Regions from separate parts of the Homo sapiens genome. Here region 2 is linked to region 1. Evidence: promoter capture Hi-C in 16 types of primary human blood cells and fetal thymus (Javierre and others, 2016). All regions are on one chromosome and are shown on one strand. The core of a region is centred on a gene start or on the middle of the fragment in contact, and the rest is flanking DNA. Distances in the headings are between cores, read along the strand shown.

Evidence for each region. The method cuts DNA at HindIII sites, captures the fragments that hold promoters and counts their contacts. A CHiCAGO score of 5 or more calls a contact.
Region 2: a contact is called between a fragment that was not itself captured here and the fragment with the promoter of TARBP1 in region 1, in 3 of 17 cell types (naive CD4 T cells, total CD4 T cells and naive CD8 T cells). The highest score is 5.8, in naive CD4 T cells.

Annotation. Positions count from the first base shown.
Region 1 is chr1:234,476,988-234,483,096 of GRCh38, reverse strand. It overlaps TARBP1 (tRNA guanosine 2 -O-methyltransferase TARBP1), which reads left to right and starts at 3,918. Exons shown (of 30, transcript NM_005646.4): 1 at 3,918-4,924. The coding sequence starts at 3,994. RefSeq lists silencers at 3,802-3,991, 4,022-4,821. The HindIII fragment of the contact is 13,603 bases long and covers 2,144-6,109 here.
Region 2 is chr1:235,492,908-235,499,016 of GRCh38, reverse strand. It overlaps B3GALNT2 (beta-1,3-N-acetylgalactosaminyltransferase 2), which reads left to right. Exons shown (of 12, transcript NM_152490.5): 2 at 4,189-4,336. Among named protein-coding and RNA genes, the nearest start is that of B3GALNT2, 8.5 kb to the left of the region's middle. The HindIII fragment of the contact is 799 bases long and covers 3,305-4,103 here.

The DNA.
Region 1 (6,109 bases), core at 2,669-5,168:
GCACACATGTTTTAGGGACTTCAAAATTAAGGTGTAAATGGGGCTTGTCAGGAGTGTGAAGATGGAGAATTAGGCAGGCATTCCATCTTGAGGCATCTTGGATGATATGCTAAGAAACTCAACCATGATTCTGAGGGCTCTGGGTAGCCAATGATGTAATTTTAGGAAGATCATCCTAGTACCAATACGGAGTATGTATTACACGACCAGGGGCACTAGGAATGGCTTCTTAGAGAGATGCCTTGAAATTTGGGTCTTCATAAAGGAGTAGGAGATGGCTATTCACTCGATAAGCGTTACTTAAATGTGATATAGCTGGGAGTGGGGTAGGTGGTGATTGCTATTATCTTGGCAAGAAATGAGGAGGGTCTAAAACTAAGTAAGGTATTAGTGGGGCACAGAGAGGAGGGATCACCGAGAGATTTAGAAAGTTGCATGGAAACTTTGAGGAGTGATTGCATGTGAGAATCAAGTAGGAAGTGTATTGGTTCCCAGGTTTTTGACTTGGGCAACTTGGGAATGATGGCCATTTCCCTAAACAGGGAATTCCTGGGAAGAAGAACATCGGTGGGGAGTAATGATGCTGGGTGAAGGGATGAAGGGAATGAAGTTAGATTTGTAAAAGTGGAGACTGAGAATGATGTCCTGAATAATATTCAAATGAAGACGTGTGGTAGGCAGTTGGAGAAATAGGTTTCGAGCTATCTCCTAAGGATAAGTCTCAGGAGAGAGACCTAGGCTGGAGATACAGACTTTTTCATCATTAGCATGTAAATGGTAATCAGATCTATAGTGTTAATGAAGTTATTCAGAGAAAATTTACAGAGTGAGGAGAAGAGAGACCTGAAGATAAAACCCTGGAAATATCACTATGGACAGGTCAGGAGGAAAAATAAGATGCTGAAAGAAAGGGAGAAGAAACAGCTGAGGAAGCAGAGAAAAGAAAGAACAGGACAAAGTCATCGATGAAAACCAGAGTGAGATAGTGTTTCAAGAAATAGGAAATACTCCACAGAGTCCATTCAGGTAAGAACGAAAAAGGGCAGCTCTGGCAATTAGGAATCGCTGCCCACATTGGTGAATCAGAAAAGTGGTGTTGCGGGAAATATTCCGGGAGAGAAGACAGTGCAAACATGTTGTGGGTAAGAAGGAGAGTTCCACATGCCTGACCTGGGGCAGAGAAGGGGGAGTCAGGCTGTGAGGCCAGCTGGCTTTTCCCCAATCCCAATAAGCCTTCAATGCTGTGCTCTGCAGTTAGGCTTTACTCTGAAGGCAACAGAGAATAAAACACATAGGCCAACTTGTTTTTTTGTTTTGTTTTGTTTTGTTTTGTTTTTTGGTATAAGTCATTTTTCAAGATTGAGGTAAACTTTCTTTTTTTTTTTTTTGAGACCAAGTCTCACTCTGTCTCCAGGCTGGAGTGCAGTGGTGTGATCTTGGCTCACTGCAACCTCTGCCTCCTGGGTTCAAGCAATTCTCCTGCCTCAGCCTCCCGAGTAGCTGGGATTACAGGCGTGCACCACCATGCCCAGCTAATTTTTTTGTATTTCAGTAGAGATGGGGTTTCACCATGTTGGCCAGGATGGTCTCAATCTCCTGACCTCATGATCCACCGGCCTCGGCCTCCCAAAGTGCTGGGATTACAGGTGTGAGCCACTGCGCCCGGCTGATTGAGGTAAACTTTCTGCAGAGCGAAATGCATAGATCTTAAGGGTTCAGTTCAAGGAGTCTTGACAAATGTGTAACAACACCCTGATCAACATAAAATATTTTCATCACCCCAGAAAGTTCCCTTGTGCCCAATTCTAGTCAAATCTCTACTCCCTATATGCAACTACTGTTCTCATTTCTATCCTTCAGATTACTTTTGTCTCTTCTTGGATTTCATATAAATGAAATCACGAGGATGTAAACGTTGTGACTGGCTTCCTTTGTTTAACATATTGTTTCTGAGACTTATCCATGTAAAGCGGATTAGCAATTCATTGTCTTATTGCTGGGAGCATTATTATATAGATAGATCACAATTTTTTATTCATTCTTCAATTTGATGCACATGTAGGTTGTTACCTAACACCTACTAGGTTGTTATAAGCTTTTGGCTATAACGAATAATGTTGTCAAAAACATTCTTCTGCAAGCTTTTTTTTTTGAAACATGTTTTCATTTATTTTAGGTAATTACCTGGGGGTGAAATCGCTGAATCATAAAGCAGCTATATTATAACTTTACGAGAAACAGTTTCTAAAGTGACTGTACCGTTTTCATGCCCACCAGTAATGTATGAGAATTCCAGTTGCTCCACACCCTTGGTCTTTGCCGTTTAGTGTTTTCGAGCTTTTACATGTTAGCCATTCTCATCAGTATGAAGTGGTACCTCATTGTGGGTTTAATTTGCATTTCTCTGATGACTAATGATGTTGAACACTTTTCCAAGTGCTTATCATTTGTGTATCTTCGTTTGTTAAGTGCTCAAGACATTTACCCATTTATATTTGTTAGATATATGTTGACAGAAACAATAGTTTTCTGCACATTTTATGTTGAAGGTAATTGATATTTACTGACATGTTAAAAGGGCTTAAAATAGAAACATTTATGCATTTTGTCAATGAAAAACGGAATGACTGAAATATGAAAAAAGTCTTGCCTGTGTAATGTCAGATAACCTTAAAGTCAGATAACTTTATATAAAAATAACTGTAAATTTAAATAACTAATTTTTGTCTTATCCATTATGTTATTATATGTCAAGCTCTTTGAAGTTGGGACCCTGTTTTCTCTATTGACTAAGAGGCAGATCTTTGTGTTTAGTAGCGAAGAAAACCCTATGTCACTGATCTAGTTTGTCTCAAATTGAGCCAGGAACCAAATCCACACCATGCATGCCGAGGTGAGGTTTTCTGTTTCTCTATTTAGCAATGGATGCTGTCAGAAATACAGAAAAGACAGACACAGGGACTATTTTTGAGTTTGCACATGGGAGCACATGCATTGTGCAGGAGGCTCTGCATCCTGGAGTCATCTTGGGCACTTGGCTGTGAGGGCTGGCGTGGGCATCTTGGTTTTAGCTGAATCCTAGCACATTGCTATAGGTACCTCTAAGGCAGGAGAATAGGGCCTGGAGGCAGGGAATCCAAAAACTCCCTAGAACCAAATCAGATAGAAACACTTCAGCTATGACAGGAAATATCCTCTTCATTTACATAGGGAGTACACCAAGTAAATAACTTTGTAACTTCATTTTATCCTCTTCAGTTACATAGTGTGTACACCAAGTAACCAATTGAAACCTCTATAGGTATTTAAACCCCAGAAAATTCTGTAACCAGCCCCCCTTGAGCGGCTTGCTTGGGTCTGCCCCCACCCTGTGGAGTGTACTTTTGCAATAAATCTCTGCTTTTGTGGCTTCATTCTGTCTTTGCTTTGTTTGTGCGCTTTGTCCAATTCTTGGACCTGGACACCCTCCACCGGTAACACTTCTCACTCCTGGCCTTACGTCTAAATCATTCTTGTGTTTTCATGACTTATTTTTAATGCAGATGTCCAGAACCAATTTCAGACCTACTGTGTCAGTCTCTTTGTGGATGGTGCCCATCATGCAACGTTTGGAAAATAATCTAAAGTGATTCTGCTGTGCACCTTCTGTGAACTGGTTTATGCTCACAGGCACGCCTGATTTAGGGTCCTGGGCAGACCAACCTCCAATCAGGAATCGATGAAGCTGGTGTAGATACTACATTAACTTTTAACGAAGGCCTCGTTTCTCCTAAAAATAAGAGACCAGGTGGGTTCTATCTAGGCAGGGTTGGTGGCAGGAACCCAAGGGAAGCTGAGCTGCACCAAGCCGGGCTGGGATCCCCCTCTCTGCGGCCGCGCGCCCGGCTCCGTCGGCGCACGCGCACGTAGGGGCCGGCCGGTCCTGTGCGCACGCATCGCACACGCCGGCGCCTTCCTTTGGGAGCCCGGGCCGGTGGCGCGGGCGCTCGGCAAATGGAGTGGGTGCTCGCGGAAGCGCTGCTCTCGCAGAGCCGGGACCCCCGGGCCCTGCTTGGGGCGCTGTGCCAAGGGGAGGCATCCGCGGAGCGCGTGGAGACGCTGCGCTTCCTTCTGCAGCGGCTCGAGGACGAGGAGGCGCGCGGCAGCGGGGGCGCAGGCGCGCTCCCGGAGGCGGCGCGCGAGGTGGCTGCAGGGTACCTCGTGCCACTGCTGCGGAGCCTGCGCGGACGCCCCGCGGGCGGCCCGGACCCCAGTCTGCAGCCTCGCCACCGCCGGCGCGTGCTGAGGGCGGCGGGCGCGGCCCTGCGCTCGTGCGTCCGCCTGGCCGGGCGTCCGCAGCTGGCGGCCGCGCTGGCTGAGGAGGCGCTGCGCGATCTGCTCGCCGGGTGGCGCGCGCCTGGCGCCGAGGCTGCCGTGGAAGTGCTAGCAGCCGTCGGGCCATGTTTGCGGCCCCGCGAGGACGGGCCGCTACTGGAGCGCGTGGCGGGGACCGCCGTCGCCCTGGCGCTGGGCGGGGGCGGGGACGGGGATGAGGCCGGGCCTGCCGAGGACGCGGCGGCGCTGGTGGCCGGGCGACTGCTGCCAGTGCTGGTCCAATGTGGCGGGGCGGCGCTGCGGGCCGTGTGGGGCGGGCTGGCCGCGCCTGGGGCGTCCCTGGGGTCCGGCCGCGTAGAGGAGAAGCTGCTGGTCCTGAGCGCCCTGGCCGAGAAGCTGTTGCCCGAGCCCGGCGGCGACCGCGCCCGCGGCGCGCGCGAGGCGGGCCCGGACGCCCGGCGCTGCTGGCGCTTCTGGAGGACGGTGCAGGCGGGGCTGGGCCAGGCGGACGCCCTGACGCGCAAGCGAGCGCGCTACCTGCTGCAGAGGGCGGTGGAGGTGTCGGCGGAGCTGGGGGCCGACTGCACCTGCGGGCCCCAGGAAGGAAACGGTACCTGCCTCTTTGCCCCCCAGCCTAGTGCTACCTACTTGGCTGCCCCAGAGGGGAGTCTTCCTGCTTCTAAAAACTAGCTTATCGGGGTCGTCACTCCGATCCATGCAGAATTTGGTTATTCCGCGTTGCTCCCCTAAAGCCTGAAAACCTTTGGAACCCCTTCTCGAGGGTGTTCTTTGAAGTCACAAATCACTGCGGTTGGGAACGTTCTAACCCAGAGCCGGTGGAATACAGCACCCCTGGAATAGTTTAGGAAGATAATGGAGCCCGTGCAAGATTTTACAGACCCAAATCTGCACTATATCATGGTAGATTCAACCCAATAGAAACGGTTGATATCTATCAAGTTGAAAGAAAAATTATTTGTTATTTATCTGTACTGACCAGTGAATTAGTGAATTGAGTGTTGAGTGTTAGAATTAAGCGTCATAGAGGCCATCACACTCTTCTGAAATTTCCCCTGGTAATTAGGAACAGGATTTACTAATATTTGTTAAACATGTTTCTTAAGTCGACCTTTTGAGTGTATTTTTGCCATTGATTTAATAGAATGAATCAGATTTTATTTTTTAACTGTTTGAGCTTTGCTCCCTACTATGTGCAAGAGTAATGAAACAGCAAGGCCTCCCTTCAAGTTGTTACGTTACTGTTGATTGGTTTGACTTCACTCATGTTAAATTTGGGTTTAAACTGTCAAGTACAAAGTAGATTGACTCAAAATTGTCTCAATAGAATATTTCTACTTTTTCAACGGTAGCTGACCATTTATTACAGGTAAAGGATTTTTGTTTGGCTGAAGTTATGAGGTTATATTTTCAAGTAATTTTAAAACATTAGAGAGTAAATATTTGAACAGTCCACAGATAGGTGTGATCATCCCTGAGAGTTTTCACTGGAAAACATTTTTTAAATCATCAAAAATTAAAACATTCATTTATTTACATGAGTCTGTTATTTTGCAGTTTTGTTTGTTTGTTTGTTTGTTTTATGGAGTTTCGGTCTTGTTGCCCAGGCTGGAATGCAATGGCACAATCTCCGCTCACCGCAACCTGCACTTCCCGGGTTCAAGCGGTTCTCCTGCCTCAGCCTCCAGAGTAGCTGGGATTACAGGCATGCGCCACCATGCCCCACTAATTTTGTATTTTTAATAGAGACGGGGTTTCACCGTGTTGGTCAGGCTGG
Region 2 (6,109 bases), core at 2,455-4,954, 1.0 Mb before region 1:
ATCACTGATTATTTCTTTAGAATGAGTTCTTAGAATTGCTGGACAAAGTTACACCATTCTAAATTATTTGACACATTGCCAAATTGCCCTGCAGAAGACTGTACCAAATTACATTCCTTCCCGCAATGAAAAAGAGTAGCCTTTTTTTTTTTTTTTTTTTTTTTTTTTTTTTTGAGAAGGAGTCTAGCTCTGTCACCCAGACTGGAGAGCAGTGGCGGGATCTTGGCTGACTGCAACCTCTGCCTCCCAGGTTCAAGCAAGTCTCCTGACTCAGCCTCCCGAGTAGCTGGGATTACAGGCATGCACCACCACACCTAGCTAATTTTTGTTGTATTTTTAATAGAGATGAGGTTTCACCATATTGGCCAGGCTGGTCTCGAACTTCTGACCTTGTGATCTGCCCTCCTCGGCCTCCCAAAATTGAAGCTGGGATTATAGGCATGAGCCACCGTGCCCGGCGGAGAGTAGCCACTTTGTTGAAATCACTAACAACATTTCCTTGAAGTACCATCATTTAGTTACAATCATTTAAGAAGACATTTGTCAGTTTGAATGTAGGAGAAAACTGGTGTCTCATTGCTCTAATTCAAACTTGATTCTTATTGAAGTTGAACATGTTTTCATAGGCTTGCTATTTGCCTTTTTTCTTTTCTGAATTATCTTTATGTCCTTCTGTATCATGTTTACTTCTTACCACTTTCTTTTTTTCCCTCTGTTTCTAGACACTGGAGTCAACTAGGTACCCTGTTCTTGTAACATAAAAGGTGATAAGAGTTTAGAGCCAGATTGGTAAAGGGAGCTAGAAATTTGAGCAACATTCTTACATAGGTATTTTATTATGCATCTGCTTTGGGTTTTGTACTGTGTAACACAGTACTCAGGAGTCTATTGGACTAATTTACATTAATGGTATGTGGTTAAAAAACCTATTTTTCTGACATTTGACTTCAATATATCTTGAAGTAGTTCTCTAAAAGACCACGATATGCCGTGTTACTTTCCCTCTGCAAGAAAAAGAGAAATGCATGTAAAGTAAAGCAGTTGAACAGAAGCAGCTTAGACATGGATTAGAAGCAGGGGGGATTGAGAGTGGCAGAGAGGTGGAATAAGATCAAAAAGAGGTTTCCATCCATAATCCATGGGATTTTCACATGTCACATGGTTATCTTTGTATTTCTTTATTATTTTTAGAAAAATCTTGTTTGACAATTATATGGAGAAGTCAGGTAAAAACCAGTTAGGATGCCCTCGTACTGGTCCAGGTGAAAAAACAGACCGAACTGAGCAGCAGCTAGAATTAATGACAAGAAAGGGATAGATTTGAGAAATTTTCATGAAGATTTTGAGACATCAAGAAAAGATTAAATTATGTTCTATGTAATCTATTTCTAAAAGATTTGCTTTGATTAGCCATCAAAAATAAGGTAGTAAATTATTGGAATTAAAAGTGATGTTTCAAATATTTTGAAAGTTTGCTTTTGTGCAGCATCCTTATTTTCTGATGATGTCAGATAAATGAGGCATTTAGATTAAATGTGATTTTTGCCCTACAGCTTTTAATCTTTTGAGATGAGACTTTGAAACAAATGAAATAGAATATCCAAAATTTTTTTTGTATCAGTTTTCTCTAATTAAGAAGTTGAAGCACAGGGATTTAAATAATTTCTTACTAACGTAATGCAAAATCTTGGCTGTGGAATCAATGTCAGAACTGGCTGGTCACTACCTTTGTTTTGCCTCCTTCCTGACACTAGAATGTACATATTTCTCTGTGAAAAAGGTGGGGAGGCATATTGTCAGTTTTACATAGTCATTTAAATTAGTCTCTGAATTCAGACACTCATTTAGAGTGAGTTCCAGCACTAGGTACAACTTCCATCATATAGTTATGTATCTGAGAAAAAATGTTCTGAGCTATGAGTTAAAAAAAATTGATGTGTTACCCAGCGTATTCAATGATCCGCTTATTGCTAATTCAGTTGAACTGGTATTGTGGATTAAAAGATCAGAATTTAGACTCAGATAAGCTATATTAAGCTGTATAGCTTTAGAATAGAACAGTGATAAAGAATGGTGTTAGATTGCCTGGGATTAAATCTTAGCCCAGCCATTTCCAAGCTGTTTGACTTAAGTTACTGAATTCTTTGGGTGTTTCATTTGTTCAACAAGTACTGGGCCAGGCACGGTGGATCACGCCTGTAATCCCAGCACTTTGGGAGGCCGAGGCGGTGGATCACAAGGTCAAGAGTTCAACACCAGCCTGGCCAAGATGGTGAAACTCCATCTCTACTAAAACTACAAAAATTAGCCAGGCACAGTGACAGGCGCCTATAATCCCAGCTACTCAGGAGGCTGAGGCAGGAGAATCACTTGAACCCGGGCGGCAGAGGTTGCAGTGAGCCGAGATCGCCGCCACTGCACTCCAGACTGGGCCACAGAGTGGGACTCCGTCAAAAAAAAAAAAAAAAAGAAACAAGTACCTACCTCATAGGGTTGTGAACATTAAATGATACTCTATATGTAGTGCTTTTCACAGATTAACTGTTCAATAAATATGGCCTATTAATAAGCTTAATCCATGAAAATTTGAATTTATTTAAAAATAAATTGTCTTTATAAAAGAATTCGTTTTAGTACATGACTCATTGTAGAGTGAAATAATAAATACCTCTATTCCATTTGGAATGGAACTTTTTTTTTTTTTTCAGGTGGAGTCTCACTCTTGTTGCCCAGGCTGGAGTGCAATGGCGCGGTCTCGGCTCACCCCAACCTCCACCTCCCGGGTTCAAGAGATTCTCCTGCCTCAGCCTCCCAAGTAGCTGGGATAACAGGCAAGCACCACCACACCCGGCTAATTTTGTATTTTTAGTAGAGACAGGGTTTCTCCATGTTGGTCAGGCTGGTCTTGAACTCCCGACCTCAGGTGATCCGCCCACCTCGGCCTTCCAAAGTGCTGGGATTACAGGCATGAGCCACCGTGCCTGGCCCAGAATGAAACATTTTAAGAAATATATCTATTGTGGAAAATAAGGTATCTACACAAAAATTTCTGTATTATATCCTTAAAACTATCCTAGTAGAAAGATCTGTTTTTATTATTTTAATTGGGCCTTTGAAGAAAATATCAACCTGGTTTTGTTGTCTTTTAGACTGAATACCTAGATCCCATGGTATATAAAAACATTGCATTTAATATAGTAAAGAGTCTGGGCTTCAATAATTTATTTTTGGAAACGTTTTGGATCAGTTCCCACCACTGGAGAAAGAGATGAAATGGATACCTCATCAGAGCTATATATAAGCTTGTAGCTCTCAAGCCTTAAAACTGGTGATGAAAAACAAGGACAAAGTATATCTTTCTCTTCTGTCTTCTAAGGACAAGTTTTACATGGAAATGTAACCCTGCCCATTAGACCTTCTGACAGTAAAAAATGAGCCGTTCAGAATGACTTACTTTATTATTATTTTTTTTTTTTTTTACTAAAAGTGTTGCTTTCCCGTCATTCTTCAGAATATTTTGTAGGTAGTGAAAGGTTTACTGGCTATAGAATTCATTGATATAAATAAGGGTTGCATTACTTTCCGGTATGGAAGTCCTTCAGCGTCATCCGCCAAACTTAATAACTAACATTAATGTAGGACCTCACTTTTCAAAGCACATTTTTTTTAGTTGCCATTGAATGCCTCATATATGCCTAATACCAAACCAAGAGCTTTATACATGTTATCTCATTTAATTTTTACAACAGCTTTATGAGAAGTATTATTATACCCATTTTGTAGTTGAGGAAACTGAGGCTCAAGAAGCTAAATAACTTATAGTTAATATATGATAGAGCCTGGATTCTAACTGTGGCCTAATTGACTCTTAATGCCTACTATTTTTTTATGCTACGTTGCCTTTTGAAACAGATTCTTACCACATCTTGTTTGTTTTGAAGAATTAGTATACTTACGTGAGCATGAATACATACATATATACGTGAAAGACAAAAATACTCTAAACCAAAATGTTATTAGTGGTTGTCTCTGGATAGTGGGTTCATATGTGATTTAAAAATTCTTTTCTTTGTGTTTATCTGAATTTCCTACAAACATAAGCTTATTTTGTAATAAACTTATGATACATATTGAACTTCATAGTAATTGATACATGACTTATTTCTCATGTATTGTTCTTATTTCTAGATCAGTTGGCCTTATTTCCTCAGTGGAAATCTACTCACTATGATGTGGTAGTTGGCGTGTTGTCAGCTCGCAATAACCATGAACTTCGAAACGTGATAAGAAGCACCTGGATGAGACATTTGCTACAGCATCCCACATTAAGTCAACGGTAGGTTTTCTGAGTTGTTGCCTTGCCTGGTTTATTGAAATAAGAGTTCTGAAAAACCTAGCCAGGCGTGGTGGTGTGTGCCCGTCGTCCCAGCTACCGGGGAGGCTGAGGTGGAAGGATTGCTTGAGCTTGGAAAATTGAGGCTGCAGTGAGCCATGATTGCACCACTGCATTCTAGCCTGCATGATGGGAATGAGTCCCTGCCTAATTTAAAAAAAAAAAAAGTTCTGAAAAACCTTACTTTGAATAGAAATGTTCATTCAGATATGTGGGCTCTTCCTGGGAGAAATGGCTGTTTCATTTGCTTTTCTTCCATATAGTTTGGGCCAAAAAGTAAATTTAACCAACATTTTAAGCCAAATGATAATTGGAAGAGAGTATATTCACTGGTTAACGTGTAGTATTTAGATACCCAGTGTGGTTTGTTTGTTTTTTGCTTTGATTTAGAATAGCAATTCTTAAAAGGTTCTGTTCTAGAGCAGTTCTCTCCTTAGACACATGTGCATGTCTAAATATACTTTTCACTAACTTCACAGAGATAAATTTAATTTTTTTCAGTTTTGTAGTATTTTTTAGTTGTGTAATCTGCAGTATGTGTAATATGCCATGCTCTTTTTCCTGACTACCCTTCTGGAACTGAGCTTTGGTAATCCATTTCATGCTGACATTAGATAGCTCTCAGTTATTAGTTAGGGGCCCAAAGCCTTAGTCTGTTCTCAATGAGATCAACCTCTGAAGATTGTGTAGTGAGGGACTAGGGGAAGAAACGCATAGAAGTTGACTTCTATGTATGTGAAGACTCAGGTGATAAGCAGAGAAGGCCCTTTCAGGATTGAATTGCACTGGCACATTTGTGACTGAGTAGCTATACAAGCAAATTGCAGTTGTGAATTTTTTTTTTTTTTGAGATGGAGTTTTGCTGTCGCTCAAGCTAAAGTGCAGTGGCACGATCTTGGCTCACTGCAACCTCCAATTCCTGGGTTCAAGCGATTCTCCTGCCTCAGCCTCCCAAGTAGCTGGGATTACAGGCACTTGCCACCATGCCCGGCTAATTTTTGTATTTTTAGTAAGGACAGGGTTTCACCATGTTGGCCAGGCTGGTCTCGAACTCCTGACCTCAGGTGATCTGCTTGCCTCGGCCTCCCAAAGTGCTGGGATTACAAGCGTGAGCCACCAAGCCCGGCCTAGTTGTGAATTTTCTTGTCACTAGTAGTGCTTACTCATAGTAGCTTTCATTCCTTTTCAAGACAGGTTTCTTTAGTTCATGGTTGCAATGATAATAGAGCCTATTACACAGCAAATGAAAGACCTCAGAATCATCACTACTATCAGAACCACCTCCAAAAGCTGTACTTCCTGTAGTATTTCCCTGTTAGAAAATAATGACTCCTCCACCAGTTGCTCAGACCAAAACCCTTGGTGTTACCCTGATTTTTCCTTTCACCTGCCACATCCAATCCATCAGCATACCTTCCAGATGCTGCTTAGACCATACCCAGAATCTGACTTCTCACCACCTTTACCACTGCCATCTGATCTAGGCTGCCATTATGTCTCACCTGGATTATTGCAGAAGTCCCCTTCTCTGAACTTACTGCTTCTACCTTTGACCCCCTACATTTTATTTTCCATACAGCAGCCAGAGTGATCCTTTTAAAATTAGTCAAATTATGTCAATTCTCTATTCATACCCCTCCATTGACCTCCTTTCTTGCTCAGAGTGAAACTCCAAGTCTTTGTTGTGGTATTTGACCTTATCTACATCTACTTCCC